Linked DNA regions of Homo sapiens: region 1 is linked to region 2. The links are contacts of gene promoters, found by promoter capture Hi-C in blood cells and fetal thymus (Javierre and others, 2016). All regions are on one chromosome and are shown on one strand. The core of a region is centred on a gene start or on the middle of the fragment in contact, and the rest is flanking DNA. Distances in the headings are between cores, read along the strand shown. Region 1 has its middle 7.8 kb from the start of TACC1. Region 2 holds the start of FGFR1 (fibroblast growth factor receptor 1).

Region 1 (6,207 bases), core at 2,008-4,507, 310 kb before region 2:
TTAAAAAAGAGGGCATTTGACCCAGCCGTCCCATTACTGGGTATATACCTAAAGGACTATAAATCATGCTGCTATAAAGACACATGCACACATATGTTTATTGCGGCACTATTCACAATAGCAAAGACTTGGAACCAACCCAAATGTCCAACAATGATAGACTGGATTAAGAAAATGTGGCACATATACACCATGGAATACTATGCAGCCATAAAAAATGATGAGTTCATATCCTTTGTAGGGACATGGATGAAATTGGAAATCATCATTCTCAGTAAACTATCGCAAGAACAAAAAACCAAACACCGCATATTCTCACTCATAGGTGGGAATTGAACAGTGAGATCACATGGACACAGGAAGGGGAACATCACACTCTGGGGACTGTTGTGGGGTGGGGGGATGGGTGAGGGATAGCACTGGGAGATATACCTAATGCTAGATGACGAGTTAGTGGGTGCAGCGCACCAGCATGGCACATGTATACATATGTAACTAACCTGCACAATGTGCACATGTACCCTAAAACTTAAAGTATAATAATAAAAGAAAAAAAAAGAAATCTGCAAAAAAAAATAATAAAAAATAAAAAAAATAAAGATTTACAAGAATGTAAAAAATAAATAAATAAATAAAATTAAAATAAAAAATAAAAAAGAGGGCTGTCCAAGTCCAACTCCAAGTCTGAGAGTTTTATACCTAGAGCTCAGACAAGAAAACCATCTGAAACTTCCTCTATGTTGTTTATAAATTTAAGATTCTAGTAAAGGACATTACTTCAAATTTGAGATATCTGCTTTACTACACTTACCTGTTTGTGGGGAGGGTGGAATTTAAGACTTGAATTAAAGAGGCTGAAGGAATTCAGGACATTTAAGTAGAATAATATTCCTGGCCAGGCGCAGTGGCTCACATCAGTAATCCCAACACTTTGGGAGGCCGAGGCAGGTGGATCACCTGAGGTCAGGAGTTCGAGACCAGCCTGGCCAACACGGCGAAACCCCGTCTCTACTAAAGATACAAAAATTAGCTGGGCATGTGGCACGCACCTGTCATCCTAGCTACTCAGACGGCTGACACAAGAGAATCGCTTGAACCCAGGAGGCAGAAGTTGCAGTGAGCCAGGATTGCATCACTGCACTCCAGCCTGGGGGACAGAACAAGTCTCCGCCTCAAAAAAAAAAAAAAAGAAGAATATTTCTTCTCCTACAGCCATTTTATTCCTTCTTCTTTTCCCCACCTCCAAAATAAAATAAATGTCCTAAACAATGCATCCTTATGGATTAGTAGAACATTAATCATATAGCCCAAATGTTTTGAGATCACCCTAATATAAAATATTCTACTCACTATCCTCATAAATATATTGTGAATCTTCAGGAGACCATACGTCTTCTTGTCACTAAGAAGTTACAAGGTAACAGATTGGGATGGTGGTTGGAAGGGGCAGTGAAAGGCAAAAGCAGATTCACTGCTAGGAGGATGTGGGGAGAAAAGGTCCACCCAGAAGAAAAGAATAAAATCACAAAAAGCTTTCAAAAATAACTGTGACACCAACTCCAACTTAATTCCTTAGTCTAGGGATTTGGGGGAATTTCATTACAGTAACTCATGTGTTTGTGACCAATAATCTTCCTGTATTTCTAAGAAATAAAAAGATGGGAAAATAAGCAGCCAACTCTGTGACATGATACACAGCATCCTGTAAACTCCAGCTTTTATCTCTTTGGAGTAAAATTTTGATTACTGTATTTTGGTCCTGAAACTCCAAGTTGGTAAAACACTGTTGCTAAGATGGCAATACCACCCAGTTAACTTACAGGGCTAATTTGATTTCAATCAAAATTCCGAGGGGATTTTTCTTAGAATTCGTCAATAATGTTTAAAAGTTTATCTGGAAAAATAAACTGGTGAACATATTTTAGATTTTGTAAAAAAAAAACAAAAAAAAACAACACCAACAAGAAGAGTGAAGAATAGACTAGTCCTACAAGACATTGAGACACATTTATGCAAAAATAGCCAGATCTTTGTTCTGTAACACAGAACAGAAAGCCCAGGAAAAGATCTTACAAGATACAGGAATTTATTATATACCAAAAAAGATGGCTTGAACCCGGGAGGCGGAGGTTGCAGTGAGCCAAGATCGTGCCACTGCACTCCAGCCTGGGCAACAGAGCGAGACTCTATCTCAAAAAAAAAGAACAAACAACAAAAATATAAAGAACATGTTACAATATGTAAGGAGAAGGAAGATTTATGATTGGAGCATAGTTGGCTGGCAATGGGAAAAAAGATCAAGTTAAACCCTTACCTCAGAGCATATACCAGGATAAATTCCAGATGGATTAGATGACTAAATAATAAAAATCGAACCATTGGGAGAAAACAGTCTACAAGCAACAGAATCTATCAGAGCTCTGTAGGAAGGATGAGGATCCAACTTACAAGTAATTAATGAAATCAGACACAAAATAAAGATAGATTTGGTTACATTTAAAAAAATGAAGCTTCTGACTGTGTGCCTTCAAGTTAAAAGGCAAACAACAGGCCATGGAAAAACAAAGGCTGTTAGTATTGTTATTACCTAAGGAACTCGTGAAAACAAGTAAGATCATTTAAGCCCCAAAAGAAAAGTGAACAATTATAACTGCTTACTATGTGTTAGACACTACACTTTACATGAATCGTCTCATTTAATCTCCCCCACTTACTCCTACAATCTCAGGAGGAAAGTATTGTTACGGCCTTTTTGTTGTTGTTAACAAGTTAACTTGGCTGCATTTCACCCTCTACAGCAGAGGCTTAGCAAGGAAGGGTTTCAGAAGGTCCTGGCCTCCCTGAAATTGTATGCAAAAAGTATGTGTGTGTGCATATTTGCATCAGTCTCTCCCTCTCCTCTTCCCCACATACAGTCAAGCCCCACTCCAGGAATAATGTTTTAGGTTGACTAAAGATTGATTTTCGAATCTGAAAGGGAACTAATATAAAATTCTTCAGTATAAGGAAGTACTGGCCAAAAAAGCCCTTATACGGAAAATCCAGACCTGCCAGAAGTTAGTGTAGAAAACAGCCAGCTTTGAAGACACCCGGAGGGTGGAAAAGGGCGGAGAGCAGGCCTAGCAGTGCTCACCACTCCAGGCAGGGTGTGCCCTTCCCCAAATGCCCAGTGGGAGCCCATGTTACTGGGCAGCCTGTGGGTTTCATCTAAGTGACTGTGTGGTGACCAAAGTGTGAAATGCTCATTTCAAGAAGGCATTTGCCAGTTGAGCCAAAGTACCATAAAAAAAGAGCATTTCAGCCAGGCATAGTGGCATCTTCCTATAATCCCAGCACTTTTGGAGGCTGAGGCAGGAGGATAACTTGAGCCCAGGACTTTGAGACCAGCCTGAGCAACATAGCAAAACCCCATCTCTATAAAAAAATTAAAAAGTAGCCAGGCGTGGTGGTGTTCGCCTGTAGTCCCAGCTAATCTTGAGCCCAGGAGGATCGCTTGAGCCCAGAAGGTCAAGGCTGAAGTAAGCCGTGATTGTGGCATTGCATTCCAGATTGGGTGACAGAGCGAGACCTTGTCTAAAAAGAAAAGAAAAAAAAAAAAAAAACCCAAGGACCCCTACTGATACAAATGAGAATCCTCAAAGGCACAAAAAATTGGGCCAGAGCATAAAAGGCATACTTTATGTGGGAGGTGCAAAAGGATTAATTTTAACATCTCTTTCTTTGGGATGCTCTTTCGCTATACTTCCTTTTAGGGTGGTTTCTTCCAAGAAACTATGTTGATGAGGGAAATGACACCCAGGAGCCTCTCCCCATCTGGGAAAAAGTAGCAAGGCTCAGCAAAGAAAGGAGGCATCAAACAGGTTGCCAAGGCCTGATTTTGTGAAGCAGGAAGCCTAAAAACTGGGGAAGCACTCTTTAAGAAAAATGCTAAAGGACCCCATGAACACAGTGCTAGGGCCACACTAGTATGAAGGGGCCCATGCAAGGGAGGGGACTGAAGCTTAGGCTTCCTCAGCTTCATAGTAAATTCAGCTCTGCCCAGAGAACAAAAGAGATTCCTGCCTGTGGCTCAGGAGTGGTTCAGCTGGCCTCAACTCAGTAAGTGAAATGTCCATTTATGGAGCGAGGGGGTCACACTGACCTCTGTCTTCTTAGAGGAAACAAAAATATTTAACTGTTGGAAACTGGATAAAACTGTCAAAAGATATCTCCTACACAGATTGTGAAACATAATTCATGGCTCTGTTCCTTCTGTACCCATTGTAAACACACACATACACACACACACACACACACACAATTTTAATTATTAAGATAAAAAAGCAAAAGGCCAGGTGTGGTGGCTCATGATTGTAATCCCAACACTTTGGGAGACGAAGGCAGGAGGATCGCTTGAGCCCAGGAGTTTGAGACCAGCCTGGACCACACAGTGAGAGCCCATCTCTACACACATGCACACACACAAAGATAAAAAAGAAAAACTATAATGCTTCTTTAACATTGTGTGTCTATGCACCTCTACTCTTTGAATTTCCACAAGATCACCATGGTAGAGCCTAATTCCCTCACCCCACATCCTGTATCCATCTGTATCCATCATTTCCTTATTTCTTCTAGCAAAAGAACCCTCTGAATTTTTGCTGAGCACATGGTCACACAGCAAGAGGCCACGTTTCCTTCTCTACAACTAGGTGTGGCCTGTGACTCAGTTCTCACCCATGGGATGTGAGCACAAGGGGTAAGTGCAAATTTGGGGCAGTGTCTTTTTTTTCTCTTTTAGAGACAGAGTTTTGCTCTATTGTCCAGGCTGAAATGCAGTAGTGTAATCATATCTCACTATAGCCTCGAGCTCCTGGGCTCTAGCAATCCTCCCACCTCAGCCTCTTGAGTAGCTGGAAATCCAGGTGCACACCACCATGTCCAGCTAATGTTTTTTGTTTTGTTTTGTTTTGTTTGTAGAAACAGGGTCTTGCTGTGTTGCCCAGGCTGGTCTCAAATTCCTGGACTCAAGCAATTCTCACCCCTTGGCCTACAGAAGCAGTGGGATTATAGACATGAGCTATTGTGCCTGGCCCCTGGGCCAATGTCTTTAAAAAGAAAACTGCATGTCCAGCCTCTCCCGGCCGAAAAGTTGTGAACTGCGTGTCACAACTTCTGCTGTGTGAGGACCACACTCTGGACAGGATAGAGCCACAGAACAGACAGAACCCGCACCAGGCTGACTGGGGAGCAGAGCAGCCTGCGGCCCTAGACTAATTGCTGCCTGAGGACTGTTCCATGAGAGAGAAAAGTCTATCTTCTCTTTTTTTTTTTTTTTTGAGATGGAGTCTCACTCTGTTGCCCAGGCTGAAGTGCAGTGGCGTGATCTCGGCTCACTGCAACCTCTGCCTCCCGGGTTCAAGCAATTCTCCTGTCTCAGCCTCCAGAGTGGCTGGGATTACAGGCTCGTGCCACCACACCCAGCTGATTTTTGTATTTTTAGTAGACATGGGGTTTCACCATGTTGGCCAGGCTGGTATCGAACTCCTGACCTCAGGTGGTCCGCCTGCCTCAGCCTCCCAAAGTGCTGGAATTACAGGCGTGAGCCACCGTGCCCAGCCTAAAAGTCTATCTTCTTTATCAGACTGTGTCACTGGGCCCCTTTGTAACAGCAGCCTCATCTCCACCCTCACATTACAACCTCCTCTGGGGGATTTCAGCATCTAAGCTTCCTTAGATGAAGGTATGGGAAGAACCTGCCTTAAATTTCGTTCTACATTCTTCTGAACAGGATTACATGAAAGTTCCTTCAAAGATGGAAGCATTTTTAAAAATGATAAATCTACACAGGTTGAGCATCCCTAATCCAACAATCTAAAATCCAAAACGTTTTGCTTGTCAACATGACACCACAGTGGAAAATTCCACACCTAATTTCATGTGGCCAGTCACAGTCAAAACACAGTCAAAACTTTGTTTCATGCACAAAATTATTACAACTGCTGTTTAAAATTACCTTCAGGCTATGTGTAGAAGGTGTATATGAAACATAATGAATCTCATGTTTAGACTTGGGTCCCATCCCCAAGCTATCTCATTATGTATATGCAAATATTCCAAAATCTAAAATCTGAAACACTTCTGGTCCTAAGCATTTTGGATAAGGAACACTCTACCTGTATCTCAATGATGTCTTTTCTCAGGGCAGAAAATTCCCGAACCAAAAGA
Region 2 (6,790 bases), core at 4,278-6,777:
AGTAAAATCTATAACAAAAAGGGCTGTTTATCTTGGGGTACACCAAGGAAGAGGGAGATGAGGGTGAAAAATATATCCTTTTCTGCAGCTGGTGTTGGGGAACAGAGAATCCAGGGTGGAAGTGGGGGTAGAGATGGTAAATACATAAGAAAGTCACAAAGAAGGCTGGGTGCAGTGGCTCACACCTGTAATCCCTGCACTTTCGGAGGCTGAGGCAAGTGAATGGCTTGAGCCCAGGAGTTCAAGACCATCCTGAGCAACATAAGGAGACTATCACCTCCACAAAAAAATACAAAAACCAACTGGGCATGGTGGTGTATGCCTGTAGTCCCAGCTACTTGGGAAGCTGAAGTGGGAGGATTGCTTAAGCCCAGGAGGTCGAGGCTGCAGTAAGTCAAGATCGTGCCACTGCACTCCAGCCTGGGGGAGTGAGGAACCCTATCTAAAAAAAAAAAAAAAAAAAAAAAAGCCACAAAGATATGCAGGCTCCAGAAGGTGTCTTCCATCAAAGGAAAGTTCCTGGGCTAAAAAATAATAATAACAACAATGACTACCATTTATTGAGCATTTACAATGTTCTGGGCGCTTTGCCAAGTGCATTACACACATTTTCTCATTTAATCCTTTCAACAGTCCTGGGAAGAACAGTTACCATTGTTATCTTCATTTCACCATTGAGCAAATGCAGTGGAGCTAACTAGCTTGCCCAAGATCACACAGCTAGCAATAAGTGGCAGAATCAGGACCCATGCTCAAAACTGTTTGACCCCAGAGACTAAGTTCATCCCTTCAGAGCAAAATAATTCGATGCTTCAGTGACTACCAACTGTCTACCCCCCACCCCCACCCCTCAACACAAACTCTCCAGGCTTGCTTTCCTCAGCTATCCCAGATGAGTTTGTGGATTTTCACATTGCCATCTTTCAAGATTCAGGCATCGCTTCCCCTGAGTCATCTTCCTTCCTGATCTCTCCTTCCACAGCCCCCTGCAGATGCCCCCGGGTGGCACTACGTGTCATGTTTGGTCTCCCCCACAAGACAAGTGAGGTCCCCCAGGCTGTGCACTCATCTCTTTCATCTTCGGATCCACTGTGCCCGGCACAGCGCCTGACACACAAGAAGTGCTCCCTGACACCCCCAGGCTCCGTGAATAGATGTGGCATTCAGGCCAGACAGAGCTGAGCTGCCACACAGCTCGCTCCCTTTCTCACTCCAAATTGGCAGAAGAGAGTGAATGTTATTTACAAAAACACCAAGCCAAATAAGACCCTCCCTTCCCTGACATGCTGAAGCTGCTCTGGGAACAGACAGGGGTCACCAAATGGTGGCCAGATGGTGACTGACTGCTGCTCCCTAACTCCAGGGGCCTGGGGCAAAAGGCTTGGCTGCCCACCTGCTCCCAGGACCTGTGAACCATCCACTTTGTAGGGAAAACCCCAGACAGTTCCCTCCTCCCGAATCCCCTTCTGCAACCAGCTCTCGGAGTGGAGACTCTGCCAGCTCTCACCACATCCTGGGGACTCTTGAAGCCTGGGCTGGAAGTTCTGCAACCTTGCCCCATGTCAATGGTGCTTACTTTACCTGACTTGTTCCATAACAAAGAATTGTTAATTCTGCAGTATCGACCCAGGGTAGTGGGGTGATCATTCCTGGTAGGCACAGCTGAGCCCTAAAATAACAGAACCCAGATAGAGCAGGGGCAGAAGGAATGTGGGGAGAGGGGAAGAGGAGCTCCCGTCTGCCAGGGAAAACTCTGAGGACACAAGTAGCTGGAGGAACAGGGAAGGGATTTCCTACAGTGTTCCCAAACAAAGAGAGCTGGCCGGGCTTTGGGGAGAGCTCCGTTTCCCTTCGTTTCATTCAGCAGTGGTCTCCTCCTCCCACAGATGTGGGAGGCAACAGGCCCCCAACCAGTTATCAGGCCCTCCAGCATGAGGGCCTTTGTCTCCCCTTAGACATGTAGCTGGCAGGGCGAAGGGCCGACAAATCCTCCCTGACCCTCCCAGCTCTTTGTTATCTCAGAGGGAAGGTTACATTTCTGTATGGGAGGCAAGGTGCCAGGAGGCCTCGGGCAGAACAGAGACAGGCAGAGCTGCTGTCTGACCCCTGTTGCCTGGAGCAGCTCAGGGCTGCCCTAGGGACACTCTCCCTCCACTGGCCTGGGGCCCTTCCAGAAATGGGAGGGCTACATTTCAGAAAGAGGGCGAGTAGAGGAGTGGGACAGAAAAGGAGCGAGGTGGGCTGGAAGGATAAAAGCAGCCAACTCTCAATTATTCAGAAACCTGTCTGCAGTGTGTGGACAGCCCATGCCTTTGCTGAGTTTCTCACCTTCTCTGTTCAGCTGCCATCAGCTCTTTCCCTGAGAAGTGGAGGAGGGACCCTGGCAAGTTGGCCACTTGCTTTCATTTTGGCTTCTTGATAAATCTATAGAGGATTTTTCAGCAGCAGGCCCATGTCCCTCAACCCCAAACAAGCATTTAGATCATTATCTTTCTGTTTAAATCAAGAACGCATTATTTAGCCTTTTATTTGGGGTTCAAGATACTCCTACAATGGTTCTAAATCATAAGAAAAAGGGGCTTGATTTAAAACCCCTTGTTTTGGGCCAGGAATGGTGGCTCACGCCTGTAATCCCAGCACTTTGGGAGGCCAAGGTGGGCAGATTACCTGAGGTCAGGAGTTCGAGACCAGCCTGGCCAACATGGTGAAACCCTGTCTCTACTAAAAATACAAAAATTAGCTGGGCATGGTGGCAGGTGTCTGTAATCCCAGCTACTCGGGAGGCTGAGGCAGGAGAATCGCTTGAGCCCAGAAGGCAGAGGTGAGCTGAGTGAGCTGAGATCGTGCCATTGCACTCCAGCCTGGGCAAAAAGAGCAAGACTCCATCTCAGGAAAAAAAAAAAAAAAGAAAACAAAAAAAACCCTTTTTTGAGAAGAATTACGGAGCAAAGTAGAAAAATAGTAGCTGGGTGTTAACATTAAATGCTGGATTTTTTTCATGGCTTGTCTTCCCAATCATATTCCCTCAAATTGTGTTTCCTCCTCTGGTAACCCAGGTTGGTTATGCTTAGCAAGTCCATGAACAATAAATATACATGGAAAACCTCCTGTGTAGAATTGGTCAGACACCTAGATAAGATCCTTGCCCTAAAGCAGTTTAGAAACCAGTTAGAAAGAAAGCAGAGTAAGGAAAACCACTAACAAAGCACGGTATCAACTCAGTGGATAGTCAGCAAGTGAGCAGGGGGTCCAGGGACTGACAAAGCTGGGATGGGCAGGGAAGGCCTCTTGGGGGTAGGGTGTGAGTATGGCCTTCTTACAAGCGTGTGATGTGTAGTAATTAAAATGCAGGAGGCCTAATGGGTGGGCAGCTTACATAGGAGTATAAACCAAGCTTGACCAGGAGCTGAAAGGTTAAATGGTGGCTCTTAGGGGAAAACCCTATAAACAGTGGCTGAAGTTCATTTATTCAACAAAGATATGAGTTCTTGTTTCTCATTTTTTGTTTTGTATTATTTTGTTTTGAGACAGGGTCTTACTCTGTCGCCCAGGCTGGAGTGTAGTGGCTGGATCATAGCTCACTGCAGCCTCAAACTCCTGGGCTCAAGCCATCCTCCTTCTTCAGCCTCCACCTCCAGCTAATTTTTAAAAATATTTTGTAGAGACAAGGGCTCACTTTGTTTCCCAGGCTGGTCTTGAACTTCTGGCTTCAAGTGATCCTCCCGCTTCGGCCACCCAAAGTGCTGGGATTACAGGCGTGAGCTGTAATTTAGTTGTTTATTTACTCATTTGTTCAACAAATACTTATTGAATATTTGCTCTTTGGCCAGTCAAGGGATTTCATGAGTGTCTACTATGTGAATAACACTGTGTTGGCCACTAGTCTGTCACCTACTGGTGGATTAGAAAAATAGCGCGAGGACCATTTTTTCTTTTCTTTTCTTTTTTTTTTTGAGACGGAGTCTTGCTCTGTTGCCAGGCTGGAGTGCAGTGGCACAATCTCGGCTCACTGCAACCTCCGCCTCCCGGGTTCAAGCGATTCCTCTGCCGCAGCCTCCCCAGTAGCTGGGATTACAGGCAAGCGCCACCATGCCTGGCTAATTTTTTTGTATTTTAGTAGAGACGGGGTTTCACCTTGTTGGCAAGGATAGTCTCGATCTCCCGACCTCGTGATCCACCCGCCTCGGCCTCCCAAAGTGCTGGGATTACAGGCATAAGCCACCGCACCCGGCCAACTCTTTTCTTAAATTAGCCAGGGAGGCGTGGGTGGGTTGGGTGAGGAGTTGGGTGGGGGGATCTCATTCAGTATTCAAACTTCTACAAGTTTCGGGGTTGAGGTGGGTGATGGTAAGGGAACAGGCCCTGCCACTACCTTTCATAGTGACTTCCATTTGTGTAATATTTTTGGTCCACTGAGAGCTATTATTTTATTTGATTCTTATGACCATCTTGTGAAGGAGTATCAACAGATACCCCGTTTTGATTTTATCAGATGCATGATTTGTCCTACATCAAACTTCATAAATGATGGACAGAATGGAGGAATCCTTCAGACCAAGTGCTGCCTACTTCCCACCCCAATGGTGGCCTCAGCCTGGGCTCACATCACACGCCCCAAGGAGCCTTGGAAAAAATAAAGGCTCTTGGCTCCTTCCTGGGACAGCGTGATTCCTCATGTCTGAGCAGGCCCATGAACTTGTATTTTTCAGACGTTCCCTAGGACCCGTGTCCATCTGGATTAGGGAACCACTACATTATACCACTTCGCGGGAAGACTCAGGGGGAAGCATTTTAGCCACTTTCCTGTGTTCCACAGTACTGGAGGGTGTTCTGAGTGGGCTGTGATTAATTTCCAAACCAACCACACGTCTCCCCTCAACTCCCACTGCTTACTCTTTGCTTCCTAGACATTCACTGCAGGCTGGAGACTTCTGGAAGCCAACAGCATCGCTGTAGAATTTACAGGGTCCAGTTCCCGGTGGACCACAAAACCTAAATTATGTGGCTGGGGAAAGCTGAAATCCAAGGGAAGGGTTTGAGGAGGGGCTGACCTTATAATAAAACCGGCTTGTATTTACTAAGTGTTAACTATGCGCTAGGCCCTCGTTGACGCCTCAACTCTATGTGAAAAGCACTATTATCCCCCATTTACAGATGGGAAAACAGAGATTTAGAGCGCGAAAATCATTTCCCCAAGGCGCACAGACTCCAAAGCCCACGCTACCAGGTACAACCTCAAGGCTGCGGCGTCTCTTCACCTGCCCCCTAGCCCCCAAACCGCTGCTATGTCTAGGGCCTGACATTCCGGCGCCCTCTGGGACGTGCTCAGATGCAGGGGCGCAAACGCCAAAGGAGACCAGGCTGTAGGAAGAGAAGGGCAGAGCGCCGGACAGCTCGGCCCGCTCCCCGTCCTTTGGGGCCGCGGCTGGGGAACTACAAGGCCCAGCAGGCAGCTGCAGGGGGCGGAGGCGGAGGAGGGACCAGCGCGGGTGGGAGTGAGAGAGCGAGCCCTCGCGCCCCGCCGGCGCATAGCGCTCGGAGCGCTCTTGCGGCCACAGGCGCGGCGTCCTCGGCGGCGGGCGGCAGCTAGCGGGAGCCGGGACGCCGGTGCAGCCGCAGCGCGCGGAGGAACCCGGGTGTGCCGGGAGCTGGGCGGCCACGTCCGGACGGGACCGAGACCCCTCGTAGCGCATTGCGGCGACCTCGCCTTCCCCGGCCGCGAGCGCGCCGCTGCTTGAAAAGCCGCGGAACCCAAGGACTTTTCTCCGGTCCGAGCTCGGGGCGCCCCGCAGGGCGCACGGTACCCGTGCTGCAGTCGGGCACGCCGCGGCGCCGGGGCCTCCGCAGGGCGATGGAGCCCGGTCTGCAAGGAAAGTGAGGCGCCGCCGCTGCGTTCTGGAGGAGGGGGGCACAAGGTCTGGAGACCCCGGGTGGCGGACGGGAGCCCTCCCCCCGCCCCGCCTCCGGGGCACCAGCTCCGGCTCCATTGTTCCCGCCCGGGCTGGAGGCGCCGAGCACCGAGCGCCGCCGGGAGTCGAGCGCCGGCCGCGGAGCTCTTGCGACCCCGCCAGGACCCGAACAGAGCCCGGGGGCGGCGGGCCGGAGCCGGGGACGCGGGCACACGCCCGCTCGCACAAGCCACGGCGGACTCTCCCGAGGCGGAACCTCCACGCCGAGCGAGGTAAGAGCCGCGGCGCCCCCGGATCTGGGGCGGGCTTGGCGTCCCGAGCGGCCCCCGGCGCCGGAGCCTCCCGGCTGCGCGCTTTGCCCGCCGCAGCCCAGCCGGGGCCGGCGCCTCCCTCCGCTCGCCGCCCGCCCCTTTCACCTCCTGGCTCCCTCCCGGGCGATCCGCGCCCCTTGGGTCTCCCCTCCCTTCCCTCCGTCCGCGTCTCCTGCGCCCCCTCCCTGCGCTCGTCCCGCCGCTCTTCCCGCCGCCCAACTTTTCCTCCAACTCGCGCTCGGGAGCTGGCGAGGCGGCGGCGGCTCCTCAGTGAGTCCCGGGAGGGACAGGCCCGGGGCGAAGGCGGCGAGGCCCGCGGTTTCCTGGACTGGGGAGGAGGGCGGGAGTGGGCGGCGAGGTGGGATGCGTTGTGTGTGTTATGTGTGTGTGTTGCATTCCACTCCATGTCTTTTTGGTCCCCTTTTGGGGATTCACCCCCAATTCAGCAGGTAGCTTTGGGCTCAACGCTAAAAATCCGGGGCATTCCTAAGTCCTTTTCCACCCCCGGGAAAGCCTGGGGTGCGGGTTGGGGTCGGATGGGGTGGGAGATGAACTGCGGAGGACGTGGAG

Evidence for each region. The method cuts DNA at HindIII sites, captures the fragments that hold promoters and counts their contacts. A CHiCAGO score of 5 or more calls a contact.
Region 1: a contact is called between a fragment that was not itself captured here and the fragment with the promoter of FGFR1 in region 2, in 2 of 17 cell types (M1 macrophages and M0 macrophages). The highest score is 8.1, in M1 macrophages.

Annotation. Positions count from the first base shown.
Region 1 is chr8:38,776,367-38,782,573 of GRCh38, reverse strand. It overlaps a transcript of TACC1 not described here. Among named protein-coding and RNA genes, the nearest start is that of TACC1, 7.8 kb to the left of the region's middle. The HindIII fragment of the contact is 1,490 bases long and covers 2,513-4,002 here.
Region 2 is chr8:38,467,372-38,474,161 of GRCh38, reverse strand. It overlaps FGFR1 (fibroblast growth factor receptor 1), which reads left to right and starts at 5,527. Exons shown (of 18, transcript NM_023110.3): 1 at 5,527-6,181. RefSeq lists enhancers at 596-1,389, 1,390-2,183, 5,195-5,364, 4,801-5,787 and silencers at 5,645-5,714, 5,985-6,114, 6,125-6,244. The HindIII fragment of the contact is 10,295 bases long and covers 3,397-6,790 here.